Linked DNA regions of Homo sapiens: region 2 is linked to region 1. The links are contacts of gene promoters, found by promoter capture Hi-C in human tissues and cell types (Jung and others, 2019). All regions are on one chromosome and are shown on one strand. Each heading gives the region's core, a stretch centred on a gene start or on the middle of the fragment in contact. The rest is flanking DNA. Distances are from core to core; before and after follow the strand shown.

Region 1 (3,009 bases), core at 7-2,506:
ATCATAAGTTGGACACAGAGATACAAAGCCTTTTCTTTTTAAGGAAAAGGTGATTATTTTTGGAAAAGCAATAAAACCTGGGTTCCCAGCAAAGACAGTGGCACAGTTACCAGACTCACTTGCAACCTGGGAGACCTGGGCTGGGAGCAAGGTCCACTCTTGTATTTTTTGATTTTCAAAAACCGTGAACAACTATGGCTGTGCATGGAGAGGCTGGTGTGGGGTGGGGTGCGGGGAGGTGCTCTGTTCAACCGCAGGGAATAATGACCAAAAAAAAAAAGGCGGGGGGGAGGGGGAAGGAATGCAGTACACCCCACAGAAAATGCTTAAAACCTGGCCAAACTGTTACTAAGCATGTGAGCTTTCAGACTTAGGGAGAATGTGGCAATTAGAAATGTAGTGGAGGGCCGGGTGCAGTGGCTCACACCCGTCATCCCAGCACTTTGGGAGGATGAGGCAGATAGATCATCTGAGGTCAGGAGCTCGAGACCAGCCTGGCCAACATGGGTGAAACCCCATTTCTACTAAAAATACAAAAATTAGCTGGACGTGGTGGTGCATGCCTGTAATCCCAGCTACTCGGGAGGCTGAGGCAGGAGAATCACTTGAACCCGGGGAGTGGAGGTTGCAGTGAGCCACTGCACTCCAGCCTAGGCAGCAGAGCGGGACTCCATCTCCAAAAATAAATAAATAAATAAATAAATAACAAAAACAAAAGAAATACAGTGGAGAAAGAAGCTGTTTCAATTGAGGGTGGAACAGATGCAATATTTCTGGCCACTCCTACCACTGGACAAACACACACTTACTATGAGTGACTATATAGATGCAGCCTGGGATTTACTAAGAAACACCATAACAGAACATCGATAGGCCAGGTGACAGCTTTTCACTACAACACCTTACTTCCTTTGAACATTTGGATTTTCTAGTTTTCCTAGACAATGACCTACACCCATCATATCATTCCTGGCCTCTCGCCCCCAGTACACACACTTTAAACATGAAGATAATGTCCACAGCCCACCGGGGCAAAACACCTCACTCAGCCAGCTAACAGGGGCAGGCAGGATGACTGCAGTAGTTTCATCTACTCTCATTTTTTCAGTGGGTCAATGAATTCCTTTCAGTGATCATCACTCACCTTAGCCATGTAGTTTTTTATAGGAACTGCTTGCCGAATAACCGACTTAGTTCAATTTACTGACTTAAAAGGACACAGTATGGCATGGGCTACTCCAGGTTGTGTTAACTGTAAAGACCAGTACCCATCCCCGTTCCAAATTCTAAACTCTACTACCTCATCTGCATGTCACAACAAGGTCAGCTGAAAACCTCCCTGTGGGCTGCACTTGAGCTTTCACAGGGAATAAACGACATCACAAGTCTGGCAAATGTATGGCTAAACGCAGCAGGAATCTCATGTATATGGATCTGAATGTTCTTTGGGAATTCTGCAGCAAATAAAATGATTTATTGAGCCAATTCAAACGAACTCTATCAAAACACACAAAGGCCTAGAGGAGAGATTACAATGAACGTAAATAATTCAAGGCAATTTTTGATCTAAAGCATTTTGCTTAGCTCTACAAAGGCATGAATGAGGTGTGGTCACGTTTTTGTATAGGAGGTTTTGCCACTACTTGCTCCCAAGTTAAACATGGCCACAGAGTATTGTGAATGTTTAATGTATGCCTGGGAAAAATTTATTGGCCAATACTTTAGTTACTAATGGGAGGATTATGTATAGTCGGACCATAAAGCGTGTAAAAGCAGATCACTTAGAGCCGCTCTGTCCAGGACAGCAGCACTAGATGCATGGGCCCTTTGAGCACCTGAAATAAGGTTAGCATGACTAAGGAACTGGGTTTTATTTTTTCAAACTTGATGTTCAATTCAGTTACTGAAAAACTTTACTATGTTTAACTATCTTTGGAACAACTTGGATATGAATTTGTGTTTTTCAACTGCATATTTTACAAAATCTAAATACAGATCAAGTATTCCTGATGAAACGTTAGCATCCAAATTATGCTATAACCAGATACACAGTGAGTTTTGAATTCTTAGTGTGAAGAATAATTTTAGATCTCACTAATAATTTGCATATATTGAGTACATATTGAAATATTTTGGATATGCTGAGTTAAATAAAATATGTTATAATTTCACTTTTTAAATATGGTTGCTAGAAAATTGAAAATGACACTCTGGGCTTATTTTTTTTTTTTTAATTTTGAGACGGAGTTTCACTCGTTGCCCAGGCTGAAGTGCAATGGCGCAATCTCAGCTCACGGCAACCTCCACCTCCCAGGCTCCAGCGATTCTCCTGCCTCAGCCTCCCAAGTAGCTGGGATTACAGGCATGCGCCACAGATTTATTTTTTATTTCTGTTGGAGTGTGCTGTTTTAAGAGTATGGAGCTGACATTTAAGAATTCTAATGCCATCTGCTGGATACACTGGTACAAGACAGGCCCGTGTCACAGTAAGACTGTGATGGTGTGTCAATACTCAAAGAACTGGATCTGAAACAGAAAAGGGCTCACAAAACACTGAACTAAATTATACTGTTAAGAGGGGATTATAAATAGGTTTATTTAGTTTTTGAAATCCCAGAGAAAATGTGACTCACAGTTATCTTCAGATAACAGTGACCATGAGCCAACGAGCATAACTGCTTCGCCGTCCACCCGGGTGCTGCAGGCATGGATGTGGTCACCTGGGATGGACCCTTTGTGATGCTGGCTCCCACACCTACAGCTCTTCCTGCTGCCTGCCTTGTCTCTGTCTCCCTTCTCCTTTCTACTCCACAGTCAGCCTCAAGTCCTTCTGCTCTGGGTTACACACACATCCTCTTTCCATCTTTCTTTGTCTATTCATTGTTTTTTTTTTTTTTTTTGAGACACAGCCTTGCTCTTGTTGCCCAGGCTAGAGTGCAGTGGCGCGATCTTGGCTTACTGCAAGCTCCGCCTCCTGGGTTCATGCCATTCTCCTGCCTCAGCCTCCTG
Region 2 (2,901 bases), core at 3-2,502, 69 kb before region 1:
AAATTGGTATAATCTTATGGTGATTAATTTGACACTATCTCTTAAAATTATAAATGCACATGACCCTTGGTCTAATAATTTCATCTTTAGGAATTTATTTACAGATATAGTTGTACAAATGTGATATCACAAATGTATATGGTTACTACCTCCATTGCTTGTAATAGGAAAAAAGGATTGGGCTAATCACAGAACACCTACACAGTGGGTATTATATAGCAAGAAGAAAAAGAATGACAGCTATTCATGACATATTGTGAAAAAGTAAAGTTCAGAACACTGTTTTAATATAATGCTTTTTAAGCCAGCAAAGCGGAAGAAATAAGGCATATTTGCACTTGCTTGCATAGGCATAAGGAAACTCTAGTTGGGTTTTGCCAGTAGGGGCACCAGCAGGAGATCAGAGGGAAAGAGGAGCATAAGGTTGGAGAGCCACCTCCCTAGTTCCCTCCCTGTGGGGTCATGCACCTCTCAACTGCAGGCCAATGGCTCTGTCAGAAGGTCCTCCCTCACTGCTCTCTCTCTCTCTGTGGGTTCTAGTAATTTGTCCTGCACATCAAATCTAACCTCTTCAGCCTAGCTTCATCAACTGCTCCCCTTCCTGCTCTAACAGGCAAACAGATTTGTCAGTTGCTTCCTTACTTCCCACTAATGTCCCTGAGGATATCTGGAAACATTAACACATGACTCTACATTTTCACAGCACTCACTGTTTAAAAAGCACATTTTCACAACTAAGAAACAGTATTTGCTATTCACAGGAACATGGAGAGTACACAGGAAGAAGGAATTATTACACCAATGATATGGTTTGGCTGTGTCCCCACTGAAATCTCAACTTGCATTTATCTCCCAGAATTCCCACATGTTGTGGGAGGGACCCAGTGGGGAGGTAATTGAATCACGTGGGCTGGTCTTTCCCATGCTATTCTCGTGACAGTGAATAAATCTCATGAGATCTGATGGGTGTATCAGGGGTTTCTGCTTTTGCTTCTTCCTCATTTTCTCTTGTCGTCGCCATGTAAGAAGAGTCTTTCACCTCCCACCATGATTCTAAGGCCTCCCCAGCCATGGGGAACTGTAAGTCCAATTAACCTTTTTTCATTCCCAGTTTCGAGTATGTTTTTATCAGCAGTGTGAAAACGAACTAATACAGTAAATTGGTACCAGTAGAGTGGGGCATTGCTGAAAAGATACCCGAAAATGTGGAAGTGACTTTGGAACTGGGTAACAGACAAAGGTTGGAACAGTTTGAAGGGCTCAGAAGAAGACAGGAAAATGTGGGAAATTTTGGAACTTCCTAGAGACTTGTTGAATGGCTTTGCCCAAAATGTTGACAGCGATATGGACAATAAAATTCAGGCTGAGGTGGTCTCAGATGGAGATGAGGAACTTGTTGGGAACTGGATCACAGGTGACTCTTGTTATGTTTTAGCAAAGAGACTGGTAGCATTTTGCCCCTGCCCTAGAGATTTGTGGAACTTTGAACTTGAGAGAGATGATTTAGAGTATCTGGTGGAAGAAATTTCTAAGCAGCAAAGCATTCAAGAGGTAACCTGGGTGTTGTTAAAGGCATTCAGTTTTATAAGGGAAGCAGAGCATAAAGTTTGGAAAATTTTCAGCCTGACTATGTGATAGAAAAGAAAAGCCCATTTTCTGGGGAGAAATTCAAGTTGGCTGCAGAAATTTGCATAAGCAGCAAGGAGCCTAATGTTAATTTCCAAGACCATGGGAAAAATGTCTCCAGGCCATATCAGAGAACTTCCTGATAGCCCCTCCCATCAGGCCTGGAGGCCCAGGAGGAAAAAGTGGTTTCGTGGGCTGGGCCCAGGGTCCCCATGCTGTGTGCAGCTTAGGGGCTTGGTGCCCTGTGTCCCAGCTGCTCCAGCCATGGCTGAAAGGGGCCAACATATAGCTTGGGCTGTGGCTTCAGAGGGTGGAAGCCCCAAACCTTGGCAGCTTCCACAAGGAGTTGAGTGTGTGGGTGCACAGAAGTGAAGAATTGAGGTTTGGGAACCTCCACCTAGATTTCAGATGTATGGAAACGCCTGGATGCTCAGGCAAAAGTTTGCTGCAGGGGTGAGGTCCTCATGAAGAACCTCTGCTAGGGCAGTGCAGAAGGGAAATGTGGGGTCAGAGCCCCCATGCAAAGTCCCTACTGGGGCACTGCCTAGTGGAGCTGTGAGAAGAGGGCCATTGTCCTCCAGACCCCAGAATGGTAGATCCAGTGACAGCTTGCTCCATGCACCTGGAAAAGCCACTCAACGTCAGCCCATGAAAGGAGCCAGGAGGGAGGCTGTACCCTGCAAAGTCACAGGGGCAGAGCTGCCCAAGACCCTGGGAACTTACCTCTTGCATCAGCCTGACCTGAATGTGAGACCTGGAGTCAAAGGAGGTCATTTCAAAGCTTTAAAATTTGGCCCGCTGGATTTCAGACTTCCTCGGGCCCTGTAACCCCTTTGTTTTGGCCAATTTCTCCCATTTGAAATGGCTGTATTTACCCAATACCTGTACCCCCATTGTATCTAGGAAGTAGCTAGCTTGCTTTCAATTTTAAAGGCTCACAGGCGGAAGGGACTTGCCTTGTCTCAGATGACATTTTGGACTGGACTTTTGGGTTAATGCTGAAATGAGTTAAGACTTTGGGGGACTGTTGGGAAGGCATGATTAATTTTGAAATGTGAGGACATGAGATTTAGGGGGGCCACGGGTGGAATTATATGGTTTGGCTGTGTCTCCACTGAAATCTCAACTTGAATTTTATCTCTCAGAATTCCCACGTGTTGTGGGAGGGACCCAGTGGGGAGGTAATTGAATCACGTGGGCTGGTCTTTCCCATGCTATTCTCCTGATAGTGAATAAATCTCATGAGATCTGATGGGTTTATCAGGGGTTTCTGCT

Evidence for each region. Contacts are between HindIII fragments. The study calls those that stand out against the background at their distance.
Region 2: a contact is called between a fragment that was not itself captured here and the fragment with the promoter of C3orf20 in region 1, in 2 of the 25 tissues and cell types used here (lymphoblastoid cells and mesendoderm cells).

The regions. Positions count from the first base shown.
Region 1 is chr3:14,673,388-14,676,396 of GRCh38, reverse strand. C3orf20 (chromosome 3 open reading frame 20) reads right to left here and starts at 1,256. Exons shown (of 17, transcript NM_032137.5): 1 at 1,145-1,256. RefSeq lists an enhancer at 2,695-2,744. The HindIII fragment of the contact is 10,656 bases long and covers 1-3,009 here.
Region 2 is chr3:14,742,822-14,745,722 of GRCh38, reverse strand. All of the region lies in intron 12 of C3orf20 (chromosome 3 open reading frame 20), which reads right to left. Among named protein-coding and RNA genes, the nearest start is that of LINC02011, 67 kb to the left of the region's middle. The HindIII fragment of the contact is 8,404 bases long and covers 1-2,901 here.